2 separate regions of the Homo sapiens genome follow, and region 1 is linked to region 2. Evidence: promoter capture Hi-C in 16 types of primary human blood cells and fetal thymus (Javierre and others, 2016). All regions are on one chromosome and are shown on one strand. Each heading gives the region's core, a stretch centred on a gene start or on the middle of the fragment in contact. The rest is flanking DNA. Distances are from core to core; before and after follow the strand shown.

The links. The method cuts DNA at HindIII sites, captures the fragments that hold promoters and counts their contacts. A CHiCAGO score of 5 or more calls a contact.
Region 1: a fragment that was not itself captured here is called in contact with the fragment with the promoter of LINC01996 in region 2 in 2 of 17 cell types (M1 macrophages and M2 macrophages); the score reaches 6.6 in M1 macrophages.

The regions. Positions count from the first base shown.
Region 1 is chr17:4,515,742-4,519,658 of GRCh38, forward strand. The region is part of intron 2 of SPNS2 (SPNS lysolipid transporter 2, sphingosine-1-phosphate); the gene reads left to right. Among named protein-coding and RNA genes, the nearest start is that of SPNS2, 19 kb to the left of the region's middle. The HindIII fragment of the contact is 193 bases long and covers 1,155-1,347 here.
Region 2 is chr17:4,608,482-4,612,671 of GRCh38, forward strand. LINC01996 (long intergenic non-protein coding RNA 1996) reads left to right here and starts at 1,968. Exons shown (of 2, transcript NR_145431.1): 1 at 1,968-2,352. The HindIII fragment of the contact is 12,447 bases long and covers 1,808-4,190 here.

The DNA.
Region 1 (3,917 bases), core at 1-2,500, 93 kb before region 2:
TGCTTGCCCAGATCAAAGGGCCAGGGCTGAGAGCTGGGCTGCCTGCTTATTTGTGGCACCAGGGGCTGCTGGGCCAGGAGACAGGGAGTGGGGGTGGCTGAGGGTTAGGCCTGGGCTTGCCCCTGCTGTTTCCCTCTTGGGACCAGGCAGGAAAACTGCTGAGGATGAGCCCACTTTCAGCAGCCCCTTTGCAGATTAGATGGCTGCTGGTTTGGACCTGGCCCCTGGACCCCCTGCAGGAGCCATATCTCAGGCTCTCTGAAAGCCCACAGCAGAATTACAGCTCATAGGCTGGGCGCCTATGGCTTACGCCTATAATCCCAGCACTTTGGGAGGCTGAGGCAGGTGGATCATCTGAGGTCAGGAGTTCGAGACCAGCCTGTCCAACATAGTGAAACCCCATCTCTACTAAAAATACAAAAATTAGCCAGGTGTGGTGGTGGATGCCTGTAATCCCAGCTACTCGGGAGGCTGAGGCAGGAGAATCGCTTGAAGCCAGGAGGCGGAGATTGCAGTAAGCCCAGATTGCGCCATTGCACTCCAGCCTGGGTGACAGAGTGAGACTCTATCTCCCCAAAAAAAAAAAAAAAAAAAAAAAAAAACAAAAAAACCGCTCATAGGTTTTGCTGTTTTGGGAAATCAGGAGCCCCCATGGCCTACACCTAGAGAAGCAGCTGCCACTGAACCTACTGCCTGGCAGGCCGTGTGCTGGGCTCTGCCCAGACTCAGTTCTTACCCTCAGGTAGATTCCCTCTATCTATGGGGGCAGAAAACGTATCATCAAGCCACCACCCAGGCACAGGGGGCTGTGGGAGCCTGGGTGGACGGCAGAGAGCGTGCACCTAGCTCTGGCCGGTGGCCGCGGAGAACACTTCCCTGAGGAGGAGACGTTTGAATGGGGCTTTGAAGGATGAGTTAGAGTTTGTAGTCAGTGTGTGAGATCGAGTAGATGTGTGAAGCCCTCCTTTCCCCTCCAAGCTAGATAAAATATGCCAAGAAAACATGTTGAAATTACAAAGCTGAGCTTGACAGCTAAAGCTAGCAGGGAAATTCCCAGATGCCAGAAGCAGAGAGCTGAACTCAAAAACCGGAGTGGGAGCTAGAATTGAAGCCAAGTGATGCAGAGTGTTTAGGGACCAGATAAACGTCTTCGAAGCTTGTTACGGTATTTTCAATATAAACATTTTTATCATGAAAAATTTTAAACAGACATAAAAAGTAGTGAGAATGGCGCAACGAACTTCCATAGAACACATCACCCAGATTCATCAAGGGAACGCCCGCCTGGCTCAGTTTCCGGGCCTGGGGTTTCTTCGTTCTAACCGTGGGTGATTTTGTTTCCATCCAAGCTTCCTGATTCCAAGCTGTGTCCCCAGGCTGCTGGGTAGTTTTTCTGGTAGAGTTCCCTTTCGAGAATGGGCATTTCCCACCTGGCGCTGGCTAGTTCCAGCCCCTGCTCCGTACAGGCCTGGGGCTTCCACTTCCTTCCCCATAGAGGCCCCCTCTGTTTCCAGGGACCCTGGCAGAAGCAAATCCCAAACCATTCCTTAGGGAATTCTTCATGACCCAGAGCCTGCATGGGACACGGGACAATTTCCACTGAAGACAAACTCAAATTCAAAATTAATAGAGCAGGCCAGGCGCGGTGGCTCACACCTGTAATCCCAGCACTTTGGGAGGCTGAGGCGGGTGGATCACCCGAGGTCAGCAGTTTGAGACCAGCCTGAACCAACATGGTGAACCCCATCTCTACTAAAATACATAAATTAGCTGGGCATGGTGTGGGCGCCTGTAATCTCAGCTACTCAGGAGGCTGAGGCAGGAGAATCGCTTGAACCCAAGAGGTGGAGGTTGCAGTGAGCCAAGATCACACCACTGCACTCCAGCCTGGGTAACAAGACCAAGACTCCGTCTCAAAAAAAAAAATTAATAGAGCATACAGTTCTCCCTCATTTTTTTGAGAGGGAGTCAGCTGACCCTGAAGATGGGAAAACAGATTCGTCACAAAGGGACTTTAAAATTAGGTGTGTTTAATATTCAAAGCTCTAAAGGAAAGGATAGGACTTGTAAGACAAGAACAGAACATTATGAAAAGAGAACCGGAAAATGTTTAAAAGACTAATATTCGAAAATACCAGAAGTGAAAAATATGTATTAAAATAAAAAATGGAATAATTAGGTGAGTTAATGAGTAGACTACACCTAGTTGAAAAGAAAAGTGAATTAGAAGCTAGATCTGAGGAAATCAGCGTCAATGCAACACAGGGAAGGGTGAGGGAGAACGAAGGCTGTTTGTGGCACTGCCTGACTCGAGTGGCCTGTGGCCCATTGGCCATGGGTTGGCGTATGGGGAGAACAGAAGGAGAAGAGGCTGGACAGTGGGCAGGGTCTGAGTGTGAAAGGCTTGAAGGCCAAGATAAGGCATGTAGGTTTTGTCTTGGGGCAGTAGGGAGCCAGAGAAGGTTTTGGAACAGGGCAGTCCGTGTAAAATGTGTGTCTCGGGCCGGGCGCGGTGGCTCACGCCTGTAATCCCAGCACTTTGGGAGGCTGAGGCGGGTGGATCACGAGGTCAGGAGATCGAGACCATCCTGGCTAACATGGTGAAACCCCGTCTCTGCTAAAAATACAAAAAATTAGCCGGGTGTGGTGGCGGGTGCCTGTAATCCCGCTACTCGGGAGACTGAGGCAGGGGAATGGCATGAACCCAGGAGGCGGAGCTTGCAGTGAGCCGAGATCGCGCCACTGCACTCCAGCCTGGGCGACAGAGCGAGACTCCGTCTCAAAAACAAAACAAAAACAAACAAACAAAAAAGATGTGTGTCTCAGGATATTCATTCTGGGACCAAGTGTGGGAAGGGGCAGCAGAGGAAGCTGAAGGCTACTCAGGGCCGGGGTTTGTAGGCTCACGAGGAAGTGCCAGGATGGGGATGGGGGAACGGAGGGAGAGTGGGGACAGAGGAAGAGCCAGCTCAAACCGAAACCAGACAGTGCCTCTGTTTTGGGGGTAAGTCTCCTTCTGCCTGTTCTCCCCTCCCGTCTTTGGCCAGCCCAGCGACTCCTGCTTCAGCAGACTTGGGTTCTGAAGGCACAGCCGGGCAGCCCCTGCGGCTGTTCCCCAAAGCCCTCCTTTTCAAGGAGTGGCCCCAAAACCTCATTCACCCTGAGGCCTGAGAGCCCAACACAAGGTTTACATCCTGAGTAGGGGATCACAGAGCAGGTGTTCCCGTCCTTCCACCGGGAAGTCTGAGCGTGGTGAGCTTTCAGGCGCTGATGGGGCCATCTGTCCTGAGCATTCTCCGTCAGCTTGGCCAGCCCAGGCCGTCCCTTGGATGGCAGAGCCTGGCCCCCGCCCCACCCATGCCTGCCTGAGCACCCTCCCTGCCCACAGGATGTGGAGGATGGTAGGTCTTCTCCAAATAACAGATCAGCCATGTAAAAATAGCCGTGGCTCAGCCCAGGCCGAAGCAAGGGCTGAATGCAGGCTCCAAGGCCACAGGGCGGGGGCTCAGGGCTCCCTCAAGCTCAGACTTGCCCTTTCCTGCTCCAAAACTGCTTTCTGGGGTCATACAGGCCATGTGTGCCATGGGGATGGCTCCGCTCACCATGGACAGGGGTCCTGGGGCTGCCCACCAGGACACCGAGGGCCCGTGGGGGTTCTGAGCTCTGGGCTGCCGTGAGAGGTGGACAGCACTGGCTTTCTGACGGCCTCCTGCCAGCCTGGCGAGGAGGAGGGAGTGAGGCCCTGGCCCAAGACCCCGAGGCAGGCGGGCTGGTCTGACCCCTCCCTCCCTGCTGTCACGGCCCTGCCCGCTCGGCCCTGGCTCCCTGCCCTGCCTCTCCATTGTCCTAGACCTGTGGGCTCAGCACACCCTCCACAGGATGTCCCTGCGGGAACTGCTGGGAAAGCCGCCCCTACC
Region 2 (4,190 bases), core at 718-3,217:
GAGTGTGCCTGTCTCCCATCTCCATGTTGTGGAAGGAGCGTCAACAGAAAGTTCCCCTTGAGATCCGTCCTCTGGATGTAGACCGCAGTGTTTGTGATAAACAGTGGCCCAAGACAGCAGGGTTTGGGGTGGTCCCGCACTTGGAGGAAGCCCATCAAGGAACGTTGGTTTATTTTCACAGCTGTTTGGTGGTAGGACTTTCATAGAAAAATCTTGAGATTCTATAGAGCTCCAGCCATTAGCTTATTCTCAGCCAAGAATCATTGTATAATTGGGTTGGATTTTAGCCATGCACTTCTAAACCTTCCCTTTAAGGAGCGGATCTGTGTCTTCACCTCATGCAGCCGGCTCTCAACACCAGTGCCTGTGTGCCTTTGTGGGGTCCCACGTGTCCCTTGGGTGGTATATTGGGGGGTGGGCAGGAGATCCCTGGGGGTGTCAGGAGGAACATGGCAGAGCCTGCAGGTGGGTGAGCAGTATTCTCCATGGATTGGTTGGTCCAGGCTGCAGTCTTGCCCTCTCTCTCGGATTCTCCCACTCTGGAAACCATTCCCTTGCTAGCTCTCTCGTCTCTTGTACGCTTGGGGAGGTGAGACCTATTATTAACAGGACACATAACTGAAGGTTAGGGTTTCAAACCTGAAGCCAATCTGGGAACACAAGGGCTCTGTAAAAAGCATGGCTATATGTTACTGAGTCCTCGCACACGTTAAATGGAGCTCTCCCGAGTTGCAGACATGGCCGTACGCTCTGCGCATGAAACAGAGCAGATCCTGCCAGAATGCAGAACAATTTCTTTTAAACTTTAGGAATGGTGTCCCTCATGTCTCACATTCAGAATGAGACAGACTCGAGTTTTTAAAGTTGGTTCCATGATGTTCTTGTCTGTGGTCTTTGTTGGGGGTGGGGGGTGAGAGATCATAAGACAGTTTGTGAGTTTCAAACATGATTTTACCTCTAAGACAAAGCATGAGAAGAAAATCCAGGAAGGTCTCACAATCCTAAGATATTTGGAAACCACCGTTTTAGGTCGGGGTTACGTGAATGTTCCCCATTTGTGAGACCCAATTTCATCTTGCTTTCTACCCTGGTATGGAGGAATTCACATCTTTTTTCCCCTTTCCCGAGAGAATTATTTCTTGGAGCTGCTCATAAGAGTCTTCTGTTTTTCCAGATAGATTCCTTCACCTGGATTTTGTTAAACTTATTAAGTCGGACCAAATTGGCTTGTGTGTTTCCCTGAAGTGAACGTTTCACCAGAGCCACGATGGGTTTTAGCTTTTCTGATAGCTGATGGATATTTTTCAAGGCAAGCGAGAGCCTATAAGCACTTTCTGAATATGACAGAGCACATGCTGGTGAGAGGAGACCGCACAGGCCAGGTGTTTGGGGAACAGTTTGTTAAAGCCAATGAATTTCGCAAATGTGCTAGATGATGAAGAGTTCTCAGCTTTCCCGGTTGCAGTGATCAGAACTCTGTAACTGGAGACCGGTGTGAGAGAAGATTTTATTCTCTGCCATCATGACCGGGTCTATACGACTGCAGGCAATTGCACAGAAGACTAGAAATGCTGATTCAGTTGGTCAGTTTGGGGTGGGACATCTTACCAGTCCAGCAGAACCAACTCTGGCTTGGGTTTTTCTAGCTGGTGACAGGTGACCAACTCATTCTGATGAGTTGATTACGCCTGTGGACGTGGCCCACTTGATTTATTTTTTCTCCCTCTGTTAGCTGTGCTCTCCCAACCACCTGATAAATGGACCCAGTATGATTATTTCTGAGCCATCTTATCTCTCTCACTTTTAAAGCTTGGATTGGGTTTGCTTTTAGAGCTTTTGATCTCTTATCTCTTGGTTCTTGGACTTGCTTTGATACCAAACAGCCCTCATAGTCTTTTGAAAGAACACCTTAAAAATTCCTAGGCTGGGCGCGGTGGCTCATGCCTGTAGTCCTAGCACTTTGGGAGGCCGAGACAGGACAAATATTTGAGCTCTGGAGTTTGAGACCAGCCTGGGCAACAGAGTGAGACTCTGTCTCTACAGAAAGTTTTAAAATTAGCCAGGTGTAGTGACACATGCTTGTAGTCCCCATTACTTGGAAGGCCAAGGCGGGAGGATGGCTTGAGCCTGGGAGGTCAAGGCATCAGTGAGCGATGGTTGTGCCACTGCCTGGAGATAGAGTGAGACCCTGTCTCAAAAAAGAAAGAAAGAAAGAAAGAAAAATCCCTAAGACCTGACCTGCCTACTCCCTAGAAAGCACCAAATAAGGAAAAGCACTCCGGAAGAATGAAGCTAAGAAGGCTGTGCTCTCTGAGGCATCCGGGCAGCCTTCACTGGAGGGACAAGGTCCAGGTAGGTGGGATGACAAGCTGGGAAGGGGCCCTGAACCAGAGGCAGGTGATGTGGGTGGTGGCACCAGAGAGACACCAGACAGTGTTACCGTAGGTCTTGACTGTCCACCTTCATTCCTGAAGTTGATCCAGCTTTCTTACTGTCACGTAGGTGGATATAAAATCGATCTTTAGGGTTCTGATTTTTTGTTTGTTTTTGTTTTTTTTGAGACGGAGTCTCACTCTGTCACCCAGGCTGGAGTGCAGTGGCACAATCTTGGCTCACTGCAACCTCCACCTCCCAGGTTCAAGCGATTCTCGTGCCTCAGCCTCCTGTGTAGCTGGATGTACAGGCGCCCGCCACCATGCCAGGCTAATTTTTGTATTTTTAGTACAGACGGGGTTTCACCATGTTGGTCAGGCTGGTCTCGAACTCCTGACCTCAAGTGATCCGCCTGCCTTGGCCTCCCAAAGTGCTGGGATTACAGGCATGAGCCACTGCGCCCGGCCGGGGATCTGAGTTTTAATCACTCCCAGTGCAAGCGTCCTTATCTGGTTTGCAGACTGAGTGGCATTTGTGCTGCCGAGGCTCTTCCTGGCTTGCCCTCCTCTCTGGCTGTTGCTTTCCCTCCTCTGTTCATTAGAGCCTCCTCTCCTCGGCTTGTTGCTCCTATGTGCTGTGACCTAAGCTCTATGCTCCTTCTTCTACATTAGGGTTCATAGCCCAGGACTTTGGGGAGTCTGTGGATGTCCAAATTGAGTGTTTTACCTCAATTTGGTTGAGGTTGCAGTGAGCCGAGATTGAGCCATTGCACTCCAGCCTGGGCAACAAGAGTGAAACTCTGTCTCAAAAAATTGTATTTCTGGCCGGGCGCGGTGGCTCACGCCTGTAATCCCAGCACTTTGGGAGGCCGAGGCAGACGAATCACGAGGTCAGGGGATCGAGACCATCCTGGCTAGTACGGTGAAACCCCCGTCTCTACTAAAAATACAAAAAATTAGCTGGGCGTGGTGGCGGGCGCCTGTAGTCCCAGCTACTCAGGAGGCTGAGGCAGGAGAATGGCGTGAACCCGGGAGGAGCTTGCAGTGAGCGGAGATCGTGCCACTGCACTCCAGCCTGGGCGACAGAGCGAGACTCCATCTCAAAAAAAAAAAAAACATATATTTCTTTGATGTTTACTGGCTGGCATTCTTCTGTAAAGAAAGTCTTTCCCTCCCTCCAACTCAGTTTTTGAGTGTTCCTGGAGGCCCATGGATTTTTTTTTTTAATTCAATGTGTTGTAATCGCTTACTGTTATAATTTTTTTTGATGCTCAAACTGTTCAGAGGGAGAAGACAGCTCTTGTGTCTTTTTGCCATATTCCCATGGTTCTTTGAGCATTTTATTTTCTTTTACTTTTTTGAGACAGAGTCTCACTCTGTTGCCCAGGCTGGAGTGCAGTGGCGTGATCTCAGCTCACTACAACCTCCACCTCCCAGGTTCAAGCGATTCTCGTGCCTCAGCCTCCTGAGTAGCTGGAACTACAGGCATAAGCCACCACGCCTGGCTAATTTTTATATTTTTAGTAGAGACGGGGTTTCACCATGTTGGCCAGGCTGGTCTTGAACTCCTGACCTCAGGTGATCTGCCCACCTCGGCCTCCCAAAGTGCTGGGATTACAGGCGTGAGCCACCGTGCCCGGCCTTTGGGCACATTCTTGCTTTCTGGCACAAGGCGCTCCAGACTGACCTTTTACTTTCCTTGCCCCAACTGTGGAATCAGTCATTTATTCAGATCCTGGTCTCTTGTGGTGGAGAATTTTTATTTCCCAATGAAGGTCCAGGGACTTGGTGTGCCGGTTTTGCTGGGTGTCCTGCTTC